2 separate regions of the Homo sapiens genome follow, and region 1 is linked to region 2. Evidence: promoter capture Hi-C in 16 types of primary human blood cells and fetal thymus (Javierre and others, 2016). All regions are on one chromosome and are shown on one strand. Each heading gives the region's core, a stretch centred on a gene start or on the middle of the fragment in contact. The rest is flanking DNA. Distances are from core to core; before and after follow the strand shown.

What was found. The method cuts DNA at HindIII sites, captures the fragments that hold promoters and counts their contacts. A CHiCAGO score of 5 or more calls a contact.
Region 1: a contact is called between a fragment that was not itself captured here and the fragment with the promoter of MKRN3 in region 2, in 1 of 17 cell types (neutrophils). The highest score is 6.8, in neutrophils.

The regions. Positions count from the first base shown.
Region 1 is chr15:23,637,845-23,645,644 of GRCh38, reverse strand. MAGEL2 (MAGE family member L2) reads left to right here. Exons shown (of 1, transcript NM_019066.5): 1 at 1-2,096. The coding sequence ends at 1,652. Among named protein-coding and RNA genes, the nearest start is that of MAGEL2, 6.1 kb to the left of the region's middle. The HindIII fragment of the contact is 4,818 bases long and covers 1,798-6,615 here.
Region 2 is chr15:23,563,522-23,570,749 of GRCh38, reverse strand. MKRN3 (makorin ring finger protein 3) reads right to left here and starts at 5,076. Exons shown (of 1, transcript NM_005664.4): 1 at 2,706-5,076. The coding sequence starts at 4,967. The coding sequence ends at 3,444. The HindIII fragment of the contact is 4,614 bases long and covers 922-5,535 here.

The DNA.
Region 1 (7,800 bases), core at 2,957-5,456, 76 kb before region 2:
CGGTAGCAGCGGCAAATTTTCCCCTGGGCTCCGCTAAATCATTGATGACTCCATCAGGAGAATGCAGGGCCTCTTCTATAGACCGCAGGGGCTCCTCTAAAGAGCGCAGGACCTCCTCGAAGGAGCGCAGGGCCCCTTCAAAAGACCGCATGATCTTTGCTGCCACCTTCTGTGCTCCCAAGGCAGTGTCAGCTGCGCGAGCACACCTGCCAGCTGCCTGGAAAAACCTGCCTGCCACACCGGAGACCTTTGCTCCCTCCTCAAGTGTCTTCCCAGCTACCTCCCAGTTTCAGCCTGCCTCTCTGAATGCCTTTAAAGGCCCCTCTGCTGCCTCAGAGACCCCAAAGTCACTGCCATATGCTCTGCAGGATCCCTTTGCCTGTGTAGAGGCCCTGCCTGCAGTTCCATGGGTCCCACAGCCCAATATGAATGCCTCAAAGGCATCGCAGGCAGTGCCCACCTTCCTGATGGCTACAGCAGCTGCCCCCCAGGCAACTGCCACCACTCAAGAGGCCTCCAAGACCTCCGTCGAGCCGCCACGCCGCTCCGGCAAGGCCACCCGGAAGAAGAAGCATCTGGAAGCCCAAGAGGACAGCCGTGGCCACACGCTAGCCTTTCATGACTGGCAGGGCCCAAGGCCCTGGGAGAATCTAAATCTGAGTGACTGGGAGGTCCAAAGCCCTATCCAGGTCTCGGGTGACTGGGAGCACCCAAACACCCCCCGTGGCCTGAGTGGTTGGGAGGGCCCTAGCACCTCCAGGATCCTGAGTGGCTGGGAAGGGCCCAGCGCATCCTGGGCCCTGAGTGCCTGGGAGGGCCCGAGCACCTCCAGGGCCCTGGGTCTCTCTGAAAGCCCAGGGAGCTCTCTGCCCGTAGTTGTGTCTGAGGTCGCAAGTGTCTCTCCGGGATCCAGTGCCACCCAGGATAATTCCAAGGTGGAGGCACAGCCCTTGTCTCCCTTGGATGAGAGGGCAAATGCGTTGGTGCAGTTCCTCTTAGTCAAGGACCAAGCCAAGGTGCCTGTCCAGCGCTCGGAGATGGTGAAAGTCATCCTCCGAGAGTATAAAGATGAGTGCTTAGATATCATCAACCGTGCCAACAATAAGCTGGAGTGTGCCTTTGGTTATCAATTGAAAGAAATTGATACCAAAAACCACGCCTATATTATCATCAACAAGCTGGGCTACCATACAGGGAATTTGGTGGCATCCTATTTAGACAGGCCCAAGTTTGGCCTTCTGATGGTGGTCTTGAGCCTCATCTTTATGAAAGGCAACTGTGTCAGGGAGGATCTGATCTTTAATTTTCTGTTCAAGTTAGGGTTGGATGTCCGGGAGACAAACGGTCTCTTTGGAAATACTAAGAAGCTCATCACCGAAGTGTTTGTCAGGCAGAAGTACCTAGAGTACAGGCGAATCCCTTACACTGAGCCCGCAGAGTATGAGTTCCTCTGGGGCCCTCGAGCATTCCTGGAAACCAGCAAGATGCTTGTCCTGAGGTTTTTGGCCAAGCTCCATAAGAAAGATCCACAGAGCTGGCCATTCCATTACCTTGAAGCGCTCGCAGAGTGTGAGTGGGAAGACACAGATGAGGATGAACCTGACACCGGTGACAGTGCCCACGGCCCCACCAGCAGGCCCCCTCCCCGCTAATAGGTGTAGCAGAGATCTCGCTCCTGTGTTTCCCTGGCCAGAGGCCACTGACAGGGTGGGGGGACATTTTTGTTCCTGGTGTTTGTGTTCCAGTTCCACGAGTGTACGTTTGGATTTTCAACTTGGTTTCGTATCTGCCAAAGCTTTGTACATTTTTTATGTGGTGTTGATTTCAATCGGCTACTGTTCTGTTCTGTATTTTGGCATCTGTGTTTTTAAGTGAGATCTGTGGTTCTCTGTTTTGTGTTTTAATTGTTATGTTTTGGTATCAGCTTTGTGCTGGCTTTGTGAAATGAATTGAGAAGCTATCCATCTCATTTCTGGTATAGTTCATGTAGCATTGTAATCGGTTGTTCTTTGAACGTTCAAATGACTCATCAGTAAAAACTGTCTACAGAGAAGTAAATATCTATATCTATATATATAAATATACTTTCAGCATAACAGAAGTGTTTGTCTTTATTCTAATTTTTACACTAGATGGTGGAAGCCAAGTTTTGCCGTATTCTCTGAATAGACATGAATAGCAAGACTACTCTCAGTTATAGTAAAAACCACGGTGATGGAATTGTTTTCCAAGGAGAGTACTCCATTCATCTTTATAAGGATGCAGTGATTTCAGTGGGTGGTTATACATAAGATTTCTCCAGGAGATTAATTAAAGCACACACGTTAGTGCCCAGCTGGTAACGTTGTTATTAGAAGCAGAAATGTCCTTAAGGGTATGTGGAGAAGAAGGGCCATCTGCCTGCAGGACTACAAATAACCAGGTGGTCCCGCTTCATGGAGAATTTGGCCAAAAGGGTATTTGTCAATCATGTGGCCCGTGGCGGGGTGTCCAGCAGTTCAAATTTGGGTTTCATCAACACACTGCTACCGGGATGGAAACGTGCTCCCTGCAGGATATCCAGGCTTATAACAGGGAAAAGGAAAAAACAGTCTTCATTTAATTAGAAACCCTGCAGATTGCCAGCAGTAGTGGCTGGGTTAGGGGAGGGCGTGGCAGGGTGCATTCCTATCAACATAGAGTTCTAGGGGAAGGTCCTGGGGGGAAGGGTCATTCTAACTTGTAGGGGAAGGCAGCCGGCAACGCCTGAAGTTGCTGAACAACCGCGGTCAGCCCTTGGCTATGAACCTGGTCTAGGCAGGAAAGGGACAAGGGAATGAACTGGCCTGAGTGTTTTGAGGAAGGATATTCAAGCACACACCAGGCTGGTGTACACAAAAGGACGTTCTTGTGGTCATACTCTCTTCCTGTGGACAGGGGACCATCAGCCCTACTTGCCACCGCATACTGTCTTATCAGAAGGAAGAAATCCAATCCCATATCCCGCTTCTAGGGTGAAGCCAAAGTCCCAGATGCGGTTAGTGGCGATGGTGGAATTCTCCTGCCACCTAGCGGCAGATTAGAGGTGCCACCGCAGCTGCCGCAGCAACAGCCCCTCCCACAGTGCTTAACTTCACAACCATGTATATACTTGGATTGCAGCTACTCCTTGCTTCACCACTTTTGCTCATAATTTTATCTATATCTGTGCCCAGAGATTCCTTCTTTTCTCTTATAGGCCAAGGTAGCATCTGTTTTCAAGTCCAATCCGCTCTTCACTCAACAATTTCTATCCTTGGTCCTGCAGCGCTGCCACTTAGGAAGCTGACTAGGAGAGGAGCCCACAAGATGCAGACTCTACTCCTAGCACCCGCAGAACTGAGCTTTCCAGGACGATGATCCCCGCCCCAGGACCTGCCAGGCCGCAGGAGCTCTTTCTCAAGTTGTCTAAGTGGTCAGGTAGTCCAAAAACTGGGAGGCAGTTTCCTATAAACTCCTTGGGTCAGAGAGTCCTGCGCATTTGTCCGCAAGCAATGTTTACTTATTTTTACAACAACAGCAAATGTCCATTGAAGGAGACAGCAATGCCCCAGCTGAGAACTGTCCCCAAAGGAGGTTTTGCTGGGCCAGTAAAGTGGCATATTGGTCTAGTATTTCTTGTTTGTGTTTAGTTTATTTATGATTGCTTATAAAGTTTTCTCCAGACCATTAACTCATGGCGTGCCTGAGCAAGATGCTCTTTGTGGAACAAAATTTGGGACTTTGTTCCAAATTTGGGACTTTGTCCCATCATGGGACTTTGGTGCCATACTTAAGGTGGGGGCTGGCTCTGCTCCATGGTAGAGAGGCTTACTTCCCAGCTGCAAACCTCACTCTCACACGTGACATATATCTAATGGCCTTCTTTAAGTAATGCCAAGGACTTAAAGCCTAAATTTGTTTATATTGTAATGAGATATAAATTGCAACAATGAAAAATGTGTTCATTACCAATGAGTAAACTAGTTAGATATTCAACTGAAAAGTTTAAGAAAGTGCAGCTAACATGACAGTGAAAAGCAGAAAACAAAGACCAGGAATATAGAAAAATACAGGTTAAAAAACAGCGGGAACTGGCCGGGGGTGCGGTGGCTCACGCCTGTAATCCCAGCACTTTGGGAGGCCGAAGAGGGTGGATCACAAGGTCAAGAGATCAAGACAACCCTGGCTGACAAGGTGAAACCCCATCTCTACTAAAAATACAAAAATTAGCCGGGTGTGGTGGCGGGCGGGCACCTGTAGTCCCAGCTACTCGGGAGGCTGAAGCAGGAGAATGGCATGAATCATGGAGGTGGAGCTTGCAGTGAGCCGAGATCGCACCACTGCACTCTAGCCTGGGCAATAGAGTGAGACTCTGTCTCAAAAAAAACAAAAACAAAAACAAAAACAAACAAACAAACAAAACAGTGGGAACGAATTCAAATCCCACTTATTTGAAAGTGCTAAAATGTAGAAAATGTAGAAAATGTAACACAAATCTCTTTTACTATAAAATTGAGCAAAAAGCCCAAACCTAGTAATAGGCAAAATGTATCACAGGAAAAAAATGGCAAATAACTGTTGAAACTGTTACACCTCACTAATAAAGATAGAAATATTAAATCTGTATTCCAGTTTTCATTTATTAAATTGTCATAGAATAAACTAAAACCCCATGTAATGTCCAATGTCAATGATATTGTTATGAAACTGGAACCATTATACACAACCAGTGAAAGTATAAGTTATTACAATTTGCCTGGAAATCAATGCAGCCAACTCTGTCTTCAAAAGGCTTTAACATGGTAATACTATTTTACCTAGAAATTCTTCATTTGGGAATATGTTGAATGAGAACAATCCACAGAGAAGGCAAAGACTTCTTCATAGAGAAAGCTGTTCATGAACATATGGGAAATTTATCAGGGTGTGAGCAGGCCCCCCTCCCCAATATAAACCTACAGTGTCAAGGGAGTACAGTGAGTTTCTGCTGAAAAAACCACAGGCTTCCTCAGAAAACAACTTGTAGTTTGTTTCAACACACAGAAAATGAAAGACTCAGCATCCACCATTATGGGCTGTAGAGAAGTCATTGCACTCTGTGCCTGAAAATTTTAAAACTAGGTGCTAGCACACTCTCCAAAGCCATAAATGACCTCAGTAAAATATATGATTTCTAGTGAAGAAAAACTATAGTTCTCAAAGTGATGAAATTCAATGTGCTCCTATGTCGAGTGTTCAACTATAAGCAAGTTAATATTTTAGGATATTTGTCTTAAGAAGATGATCTGAATTTTGGAATAATTTTACTCAAAGACATTACTCCTGAGAGCAACAGAGAAAAGGACCGGTTGTTTCTCAAAGCCACCAGTGAATCAACCTTGTCAGCAAACGAGAGTTAAGGATTGTGGCTGCAATTGACAGAGGACTTTCAAGATTAAGGGGCCGGGGCCCTGTGGCCGCAGTAATATCCATTTTACTGGGCATGTAGCCTATATTATTGATTTGCCCTCAGAGTTATAGGCACCCCCAGAACTCAGCAATTCACCCCGATGGTCATGATACTTGAAAGGATACATCATTCTTGCACTCCTGCCCCTAGCTGCCGGGGCTGGAAGCCTGGGTCCCTTTTTCTCTCTGATTTGATCGGTTGTCAGGTCTTGCCCGTTTTGCCAATTTGTATGTCAGTGTTTTTTCTCCTCTCCATCCCTGTGGACACGGCACCCTGCCAGAACTTGGCAGTTTCCTTTTTCATGGTCTCTGCCTTCAGTACTGCCCCTTAATCAAACCTCCACATTGGCTGCACAGGGGCCTCTGTGCCGCCGCCACACAGCTGTGCACACCTCATAATGCCTCTCCCTGCCTAAAGCATTTCAAGGCCTTCAGTGTTCCTTAGAGTAAGGTGCAGCAACCCTCAGCTCACCTTCCACACGTGAGGGTCCAGGAGCGGCTGGTTAGAGTAGGTTTACCTACAGAGAAATCTACAGACCATGCCAGGGGTCCCTCTGTGGGACAGCTCAAAGAATTCCTCGGATTCTGAATTGAAAGCCTAAGCAGACCACCAGGAGGGTCCTAAAGGGAAAAAGGCCTTGATATACAGGGCCCAAGCTACATTTTCCTGTGTGCAAGCAAATTTGTTCTTTCGGATCTCCCAGAGGGTTCCATTGTGAATTCCACCAAGGGATATATACAACACTACTAGCACAGTAAGTAGTACAATCCTCTAATCTGTCGAGATTCTGAAAGTTGTACCTGCCTCTTTTTAAGAGATGACACTTACGAGGAGCCTTCTTCATTATCAGCTTCCTCCTACTCTTATTAGTGACGCTAAATAGATCATCCTGGCTGTGTCAGCGGCATGCGCTTCTCTGTGCAAATGGTCTGGTTCTGCAAGCTGCCCATTCACCTCCCAATGAGACTTGCTTTCTGTGCTATCCCTTGTTCTGAGTGAATTCAGCTTGTGAGCTGCTGTTAACAGAAGCAATCACCACAGAACATTTTCTAGACCCAGGAGACTTCCTGGAGCTTCTCTCCAATGGCTCAGAATCTTCCCCTGAAACAGCCAGCTGGATGGGGCCACAAAGCTGTGGAATCAAAATATTGGCCTTGTAACAAGCTTCTGCGAGAAAGCCTCAAAAACATTCTGTTTTGAAATAATCATAGATTCACAGGAAATAGCAAAAACTGTGCAGGGTAGTCTCATATACCCTTAACCTAGTTTCCCCCAGTGTTTATATCCTGTATAGCTGTAGTACAACATCAAGGACGTGGACACTGTACCATCTGCACGTTCAGCTCAACTCAATGCCATCTTATCACGTGTGTAGATAGTGTAACTAGCACTGCAATCAAGATGCAGCACTCTTCCACCACCACCAAGATTTCTCCCACGCTACTCCTTTACAGCTGTGTCCATCTCTTTCCCCCACATCCTTAACCTCTGGCAATCACTACTCTGATCTTCATCTCCATAACTTTGTAATTTCAAGAATGTGCTCTAAAAGCATTAATACCTTTGAGACTGGCGTCTTTCACTGAGTATCATGCCCTCGACATCCATCCACACTTTTGTATCAGTCATTCATTTTTTGATGCTAATAAAATATTTACTGTTTTGTGGGATTGGCTATTTCCATTTTTTAGCTACTGCAAAGTTGCTAGGAACATTTAAGCGCAGGTTTTTCTAAGGACACACATTTTCATTTGTCTGTGGCAAATGCCCATGGCCATAATTGCTGTATCATTTGATAGGTCTATGGTTACTTATTCAAAGAGCCTTTCAAACTATTTTCCAGAGGGACTGTAACATTTTACATTTCCACCAGCAATGTATGAGAACAAATTTCTTTCTTTTTTTTTCTTTTCTTTTTTTTTTTTTTTTTCTTTTTTTGAGATGGAGTCTCACTCTGTCGCCCAGGCTGGAGTGCAGTGGCGCCATCTCAGCTCACTGCAAGCTCCACCTCCCGGGCTCACGCCATTCTCCTGCCTCAGCCTCCCGAGTAGCTGGGACCACAGGCTCCCGCCACCTCGCCCAGCTAATTTTTTGTATTTTTAGTAGAGACGGGGTTTCACCGTGTTAGCCAGGATGGTCTCGATTTCCTGACCTCGTGATCCGCCCGCCTCGGCCTCCCAAAGTGCTGGGATTACAGGCGTGAGCCACCGCGTCTGGCCCCAGAAATCCAATTTCTCTGCAACCTCACCAGCAATTGATATAATCTTTTTGTTGTTGTTGTTAATTCGGCTGTCCTAATAGGTGTGTGGTGATATGGCATTGTGGTCTTAATTTACATTCCTCTTATGGCT
Region 2 (7,228 bases), core at 3,827-6,326:
GAGTCCTTGAGTCCTCATAGGGGCGAGGGCCAGCACACACTCTGAATCACTCACAGAGCAGACCTTTGTGTGGCAAAGGCTTCTTTGTTCCTGACTGCAGCAGGGGAGTGGTCAGATCGTGGGAAAGCCCTTGGTAACATTTCACCCAGACCTGGTGGCAGTAATACTTCTGTTATTTGACATTTTTCTGAATGAACTGATGAGGGAACAAGGAATCCCATATATTCTAAAAATGTCCCTTTGTTATTTTCCTCACCTAGAACTCTGCCAAAAATATGTATTTCTTTTGTTATATTTTAAGTAATTGAATAGCACATATTTAGTTTCAAATGAATAATTTTTGCTGAAAAAATACTTCATCTTTTTGAAATTATGAATGTGAGGGTAATATACCCCTTGCTTACCAAAATAATCATTAAATGATAACATTACATTAATACAAGTTCCAGAGATTCTCAAAAAGAAAATCTTGGTGATTAATTTCTGTGCAATCACCTTTTCATGTCCAAAAATATGCACAAATCTCATATCTATATATAATCACTAAAAAAAAAAAACCTATGTTTCAAGCTTTTTGTCCAGACTACATTTGATCCTCACAACAATCCTGCAAAAGTAGGTGGAACTGTACCCATTTCTCATATGAAGAAACTGAAGTACAGAAAATTTAAGTAACTTGCTTAGACTGTGAAACTGAATGGCTGGTAAGAAGCAGAGTCAGGATTCTAACTATCCTTGGTCTCTCAAGCCACTTTATTTTCTACTGACGATTGTCCTACTATAAATACTGAACTTTATGATTATCTGGTTCAAGATACTATTTGAATAAAAACACAATATTTCACAATGCAGGGAAGTGTACATTTGGAGAAACTTTCCACAGCTTTCTGGGCTCAGCTTAAAAACCCCTCTCTGAAAGCTTTGCCACTATTTTCTGAGACTTTGGTGTTGGCACAGTCTTTGAGAGTGCACCATCTGGTCTCATTCTTTGGTTGTTTAGTTCATCTAATCTCTCTTTCTCCTGCACGACTGCAGGGCAGGGACCTCAGATGTTTGGAATTTATTTGGAATCTGTCACTCACCTTGCATGCCAGTGATAGTCAGGCATCAAGGGTGTCCTGATTGGTGAATTCTTTGGCTAAGAGGAATCAAGAGGAAAGGAATATGGCAAAAGGTCCAGGCAAATAGGCTGAGGTACTTAATAGGAGAACCAGGAGTCATGTAAGAAGGGAGAGGCAATGTAAAAGTATAGGAGGCTGAGGCACACTCTGAAGCAGTGGACTAAAATCACTGAGCTGGCAGCCTATAGATAAAAGCCCCATGGCTCCTACATTCTGTGGGAGCTTATTCAAGTCCATCTTTGCTCCACTTGGCTGAATCATCCATATTTAAAGGCTGTACTTGCATCTCCAGCAGCTACATTCAGCTGGTCGACCTGCTCCTAGTGAACATGGTAAGTGCGAGTGCTCTGGACAAATACTGCTTGAGTTCCAGTCTTTGTTCCACTAATTCACAGCTATGGGTCGTAAACTCTACGGGCAAAACCTTTAAATTCTCTATTATTTACCTCATCATGATAATGAGAAAAACTATAGCAAGTACCACATTAGGTAGTTCTGACAAATTCATCCTTTTGCATGCAAAGTACATGGTATAAACTCTGTAAATGTGCCATCTTTGTTGGACAGTCAGGACAGTGTGAATAACCTGGGACTCAAGATTCAGACTCCCAGCATATTTTTCAGCTACTTCAGCCAAGATAAGTGCATTTGCAGTTGATGCAGATCATACGTTGTACAGGTAAATCATTAAAATGGCATCATTCTCTTTCACATTCATTTTTTCTTTGCTTGTTTGGTTACTAAAAAGATGTATTAAAATTGTCCACTAAGAGTCTGGATTTAGGATTTTCATCAGTTGTGTATCTGATACAATGTTATTAAATGTATACAAAATTTGAAGTTATATATTCCTGTGAATTACAATTTAATGTTTATGTACCATTCCTTTTTATCTCCAGCAAAGTGTTTATCCTTACTATAAACTTTGTCTACAATCAAGAGAGTCCACAGCACCTGTTCGGCTTTTTCCCATCCTACTACTTTGAGTGTTTCTGTATTTTCATGTTGTGTGTATTTTAAACAGGATGTTTCATTCTGATTGTAATGAAGTCTTATAGCCTTTGACTTTCAGTCTTTAAACTGCTTTCATTTAATCTAATTAAGTTGTATGTAGATTTTCTATATTAGTCTTACACTTAGTTTTTAGTGCTTTCTATATTTTATTATTTTATCTTTCCATTCTTTTATTCTCATTGGTTTTAATATTTTTGTTCTATTTTCCCTTTTATAATCTTGTTACTTTTATGTTGAACTCTTTTGTCAAAAGCCCCTTGTTGGGAAAGTCTAGAGACTTTGTATATCAAATACAAAGCACTGTGCCTCTGAGCCTAGGATTTGCTGTTACAAAGAATTAATGAGAAGGTGGCTAAACTGCATAGGAAAACCATTTCTGTATTTATAGAGTAAGCTATTAATGCCATTGTAAGAATTACCAATATAGTGCTTTGTAAGTCCTCTAAGATCTGCATCTGTCACATTTGGCCAGACCCACTTGAACAGTCCTTTTCATTAGATGCTAATTACTGGCTTCTGTGCGAGGGACAGAAAGATTATTCACACAACTCACATCCACACAACAGCCAATCCTGTTAGGCTTTGACCTTCAGCTTTCAGCTCTGTATTTACTTTATTACATAAACATAAATATTATATTGTGATGTATATTCTTTTATATATTTTTTTCAAATACATAACTCTTATACATATATATTTTTATATATATAATTCTTAAATATATATTTCCAAATATAAATTATTTCATGTCAAGCTAAACAGGATAAAAACATGTAAACATATACACTTGGTTTTGGTCAAGTAAAACACAAAATCACAAGTTCATCACAGTTTAACAAGTGCACTTGAAGGGGAAGGAGGGAAAGAACAAACTGTAAACAAACAGATGAGCAGCTGCAAAGCCCTGCAAGGGTCCATTTGTTAAGGCTATTATAGCACAAAGCTACTAGTTCAATTAAAACTTCTCCTTTCACTCTGCCACATTTACTCTTGAGGGTCTTCAAAATAAGTGTGGAAATTCAGTAAACACTACACTAGAACTGAGTTAATCCTGTTGACAACAGAGATGACAAAAAAAAGCCATAAGCTGACATTAATATTAATTTCACCAAAACAGTAACTTTAAGGACTTATTTTTTAACACAGATAATCACCATAATCCTAGGGGGAAAGATATGCAGAATAGACAAGAAAACAGAAGCACTGCCTCAACAGCCCCTGAAAGCAGTAAGAGTGTCAACACAGGGAAAACAGGCAATAGCAGACGACAGAACCTCAGCAGACTAGACCACATGCCACAGCACGATGCTACAGAATCAAATTGAAATATTCTTCCAGCTCATAATGAAGCAAGTCCCACTGGTCCTCAGAGAAGGGTAACTCATCTCTCAGTGAAAGAAACCGCTTAAACAACAGACTGGCCAGCCGAAGCACGACAAGCTCCTTCTTAATGCTTTTATAGAGCATGTTGCCCTCTCCCATTCGCACAGGCTCCACAAGTTGATGCCAGTATGCGCTGAATGACCCACCACCTGGCCCAGGAGGCTCATCTCCCCAGCCCTCAGGGTATTCATGCTTGTAAAAGCATGTGTCTCCAAATGGGCAGTTACCCCTGCCTTCCGCAAAATACCTGCAGGCCTTGTTGCTCATTGCCTCCTTGTATTGCTGAATAAGTTTCTGCTTCTCTTCCTCCTCCTCCACCCAGAACTCACTGGGAATGACCAATTCAGAGGTGACCCTGCACTGTGGGCAAGACTTGACGATCCTGTTCTCAAACTGTCTGGCACTTCTCCACCTGCGGATACACCTAATACAGAAGGAATGGTTGCAATTGGAAAGAATGCCAAAGCGGCGGTCATTGGGGTTGGCCTTCTCATAGACAACCTCCATGCAGATGCCACACACCTTGTCCATACCACGCTGCACAGCAAACGAGAGTTCCATATCTTTCTCGTGTGCTTCAATGCAGGCCCTCATATGTTCTTCCCTCTGGGCAGCATCCATGGGGTGCAAGGTCTGCAGCCCACACATGTCGCATATGTCTCCATGGAGGTACATACAGCTCTCCCCACGAAAGCAAACTCCCCTGGAAGCATAATAGCAAAACCGCAACCCACTGCCCACAGCCATCTGCTTCCTCTCAGTCTCTGAGCTCTGTAGAGGAGCCTCGGGGGCAGATGCAACCCAGCGGCCCCGGTAGGGCTGCCCTGGAACAAACTCAATGGCATCCGCCCAGCTTTCTACACCTGCTCCTCCAGCAGCTCCACGGTCTGCATTGTCTCTCTCGGCTTCAAAGAAACCCCTTTCAGCAGCCGAGCCAATCACAGGCAAGGAAAGGGAGGATGCAGCCGGGGGGGCTTCCGCCACTTCCTGAGTCGGGGGCTCGATGTGCGCAGCCGTGCTAGGGCCTCCACCTGCAGAGGCCCCAGGCGGCGAAACGCCACCCTCAGTGGCCATCTTCCGACCAGAAAGGTCGTGCGAATAGCGACAGTTCTCCCCCTCCTTGCACTGCCCATGTATATAATACCTGCAGATGATCTGCTTTGTCCAAATGCCGCTGCTTCGGCTTGGCAACGGACTGGGCCAGGCTCCTCCTCCTGAGGCTGGGGCAGGCCTCAGGCCTCCTCTGCGGAGGTGGGCAGGGACTGGAGCTACAGGGAAGGGGGCCCAGCCCCTTGCCGCATGTGGCAGGGCTGAATCTGGAGCAGCAGATTCCCCGGAGGGCTCACAGACGGGAAGGTCCGGCCCAGACACACCCTCCCTTGCTGCCTCAGCACCTGCCTGGGCCCCGGCTGCCTCGTGGGCTTCTGAGGGAGCTGCAGGCTCTTCCATGGCTGCTTTGGCACCCCGAAATGGTGCCAGAACCTCTCCGGTATTTTTTCTTTATGGGCTTGAGGCCCGGAATGGCGGCCGCGCTCGGAGGCTTCTCTGGGGGAAGTGTGCATCTCTTTTTCCTTCCCCCCTGCTTTTGGGTCCCTCTGACTGTGTGTTCCTACCTACTTCCGGGCACAGGCAGCATGGCGGACACTTCCTGTGGGGGCAACGTACGTGCTCTGCCTGGTTTTTACCGCAATTTTCCAATCTGACATATTTTTTCGTTCACACAGGCGGGGACCAACCCAGCCCCTTTTGTCTGCCTTCTGCCTCTGCTTCGCTGTGTTCCGGCAGTCCCTAAGTCCCTTCTCACACGATTTCCTCAGGAGAATGAGGTTTTACTTTAATCTCTTCTGGTTTCGGTCATGCACGCTTCGTTGTATTTTCGTATCTGTCTGCCTTAAAAAAAATATAATCCTATAGATTCTGAAACATTTCATCCATGAATTATATAAATTCTTTTTTTATTCACTCCATCTTATGTCTGTGGTTTTTTTCTTTTAATGCCCGATCGCGGCAGGAAGCTTTTTTCAATTCGTTCGGTTGACAAGGCGCCGTTTCTTTTGGTCTTTGTTTTCTGGGATTTCTGAGGGCTTACACTGGATACGCTTTTCACCAGCAAGGCATTAGCAGAGAGCACTTCTGATCCGAGGCTAAGTTAGCACCTTTCAGATGTCTTTCTTTATTGTGATTACTATGCTCATTTTCCCACTGTGTTAGAAGCGCCAGACTTCAACCAGTCCTGATGCTGGCCTAATAAGACACTGTCCCCTGCATGACCCAGGCTTTTATTTTCTCTACTGGTTTAATTCATGGCAGCCCTTTGTTTCCCTTCCTTTCTTTCAACCCCATCTGTGCTGTGTTGTGGCAGGACAGCCTTTCATAACATATCCTGTGCCATATTATCCACAAAGGAATGGTCTTTAATTTCCATGTATGAGCGTTTTGTCATTTTTGCAGATAAATGTAGTAGATTAATCATTTTTTTGTATTCCTACTTTGCTGAGAGTACGTATCATGACTGCATACTGAATTCTGTTATGTAGTTTTATACATTTTTTGAGACAATTTTGTTTTTCCCTTTATTCTCTTAATGTGATTATTTGCAGCTATGAGTTTCAAATATTTAACTAACCAATTTGTTTCTAATAAGAAGCCCTTCTGTCATGATATATCATTTTATATATTATTGGATTTTTTTTCTATAAGTTTCTTTGAGGAAATTTTGTTGCCTAAATCTGTAAAGTGGAAACATATCTGAATATTTATAATCACCCAAGTCAACAAATTAAATTATAATTAAGTAGGTAAAAGCAATGAAAGCAGAATGAAGCAAATAATAAGGGCAAGAAAAGCAATGAAGAAAAACAAATATTAAATAAGGGAAATAAATTAAGTAAAATCCCTTAAACTGCTTATTGAAGCCAGATAATTTCTGGTGAAATTTATCAAGGAAAAATGAAGAAGGCTCTAATACCCAAGATCAGTAATTTCAAATATGTTATCACTACATTAATAACAGACATTAAAAATCATTAGAGAATATCAGGAACAAAGTTAGGAGATAAAACTTGAAAAGTTACATGAAATAGTCATATTGGTGGAAACATCTATTAGTAAAAATGACAGGAGCAGAAATACATGTGAATATGGATCTGTTAAATTACATCTGTAATTTAGATAATTATCTAAATAAAGGTCTCTAAAACTTTCTCTCTGAAATAAATCTAAAGGCAAAAAAAATCTGTATTTATTATTGCAAGTCCTAGCTAGTGTAATAGCAAAGAAATAAAAGATGTTATAACTGGAAAGAAATTATTGATGGAATGCAACAGAAAATTGAGAATAATTTACAGATAAGCTATTAGATTTAATAGGTACATTTAGCAAGGACACTGGACAGGAGTCCAATATATGAAAATCATTTTTATTTCTCTATCATCAATAACATTTGAAGTAAACATTTAAAATTAATAACATTCATAACAACATTAAAAGTTAGCTAACCTAGGAATTAAACTAATTAAGGTTATACAATAAAATTAAAAACATTTTAGCTTCAGAAGACCTAAATAAATTGTGGGATACTTTATATATAGTCTTTATAGTCGGTCAGTAGAAGGCTCAATGTTTTTAAAAGGTAGTCTTTTCCTAATTTGATAATTATTTGAAAATGGTGCTGATTATTCATCGTGAATGTAGGAAATGTTGGATTTATC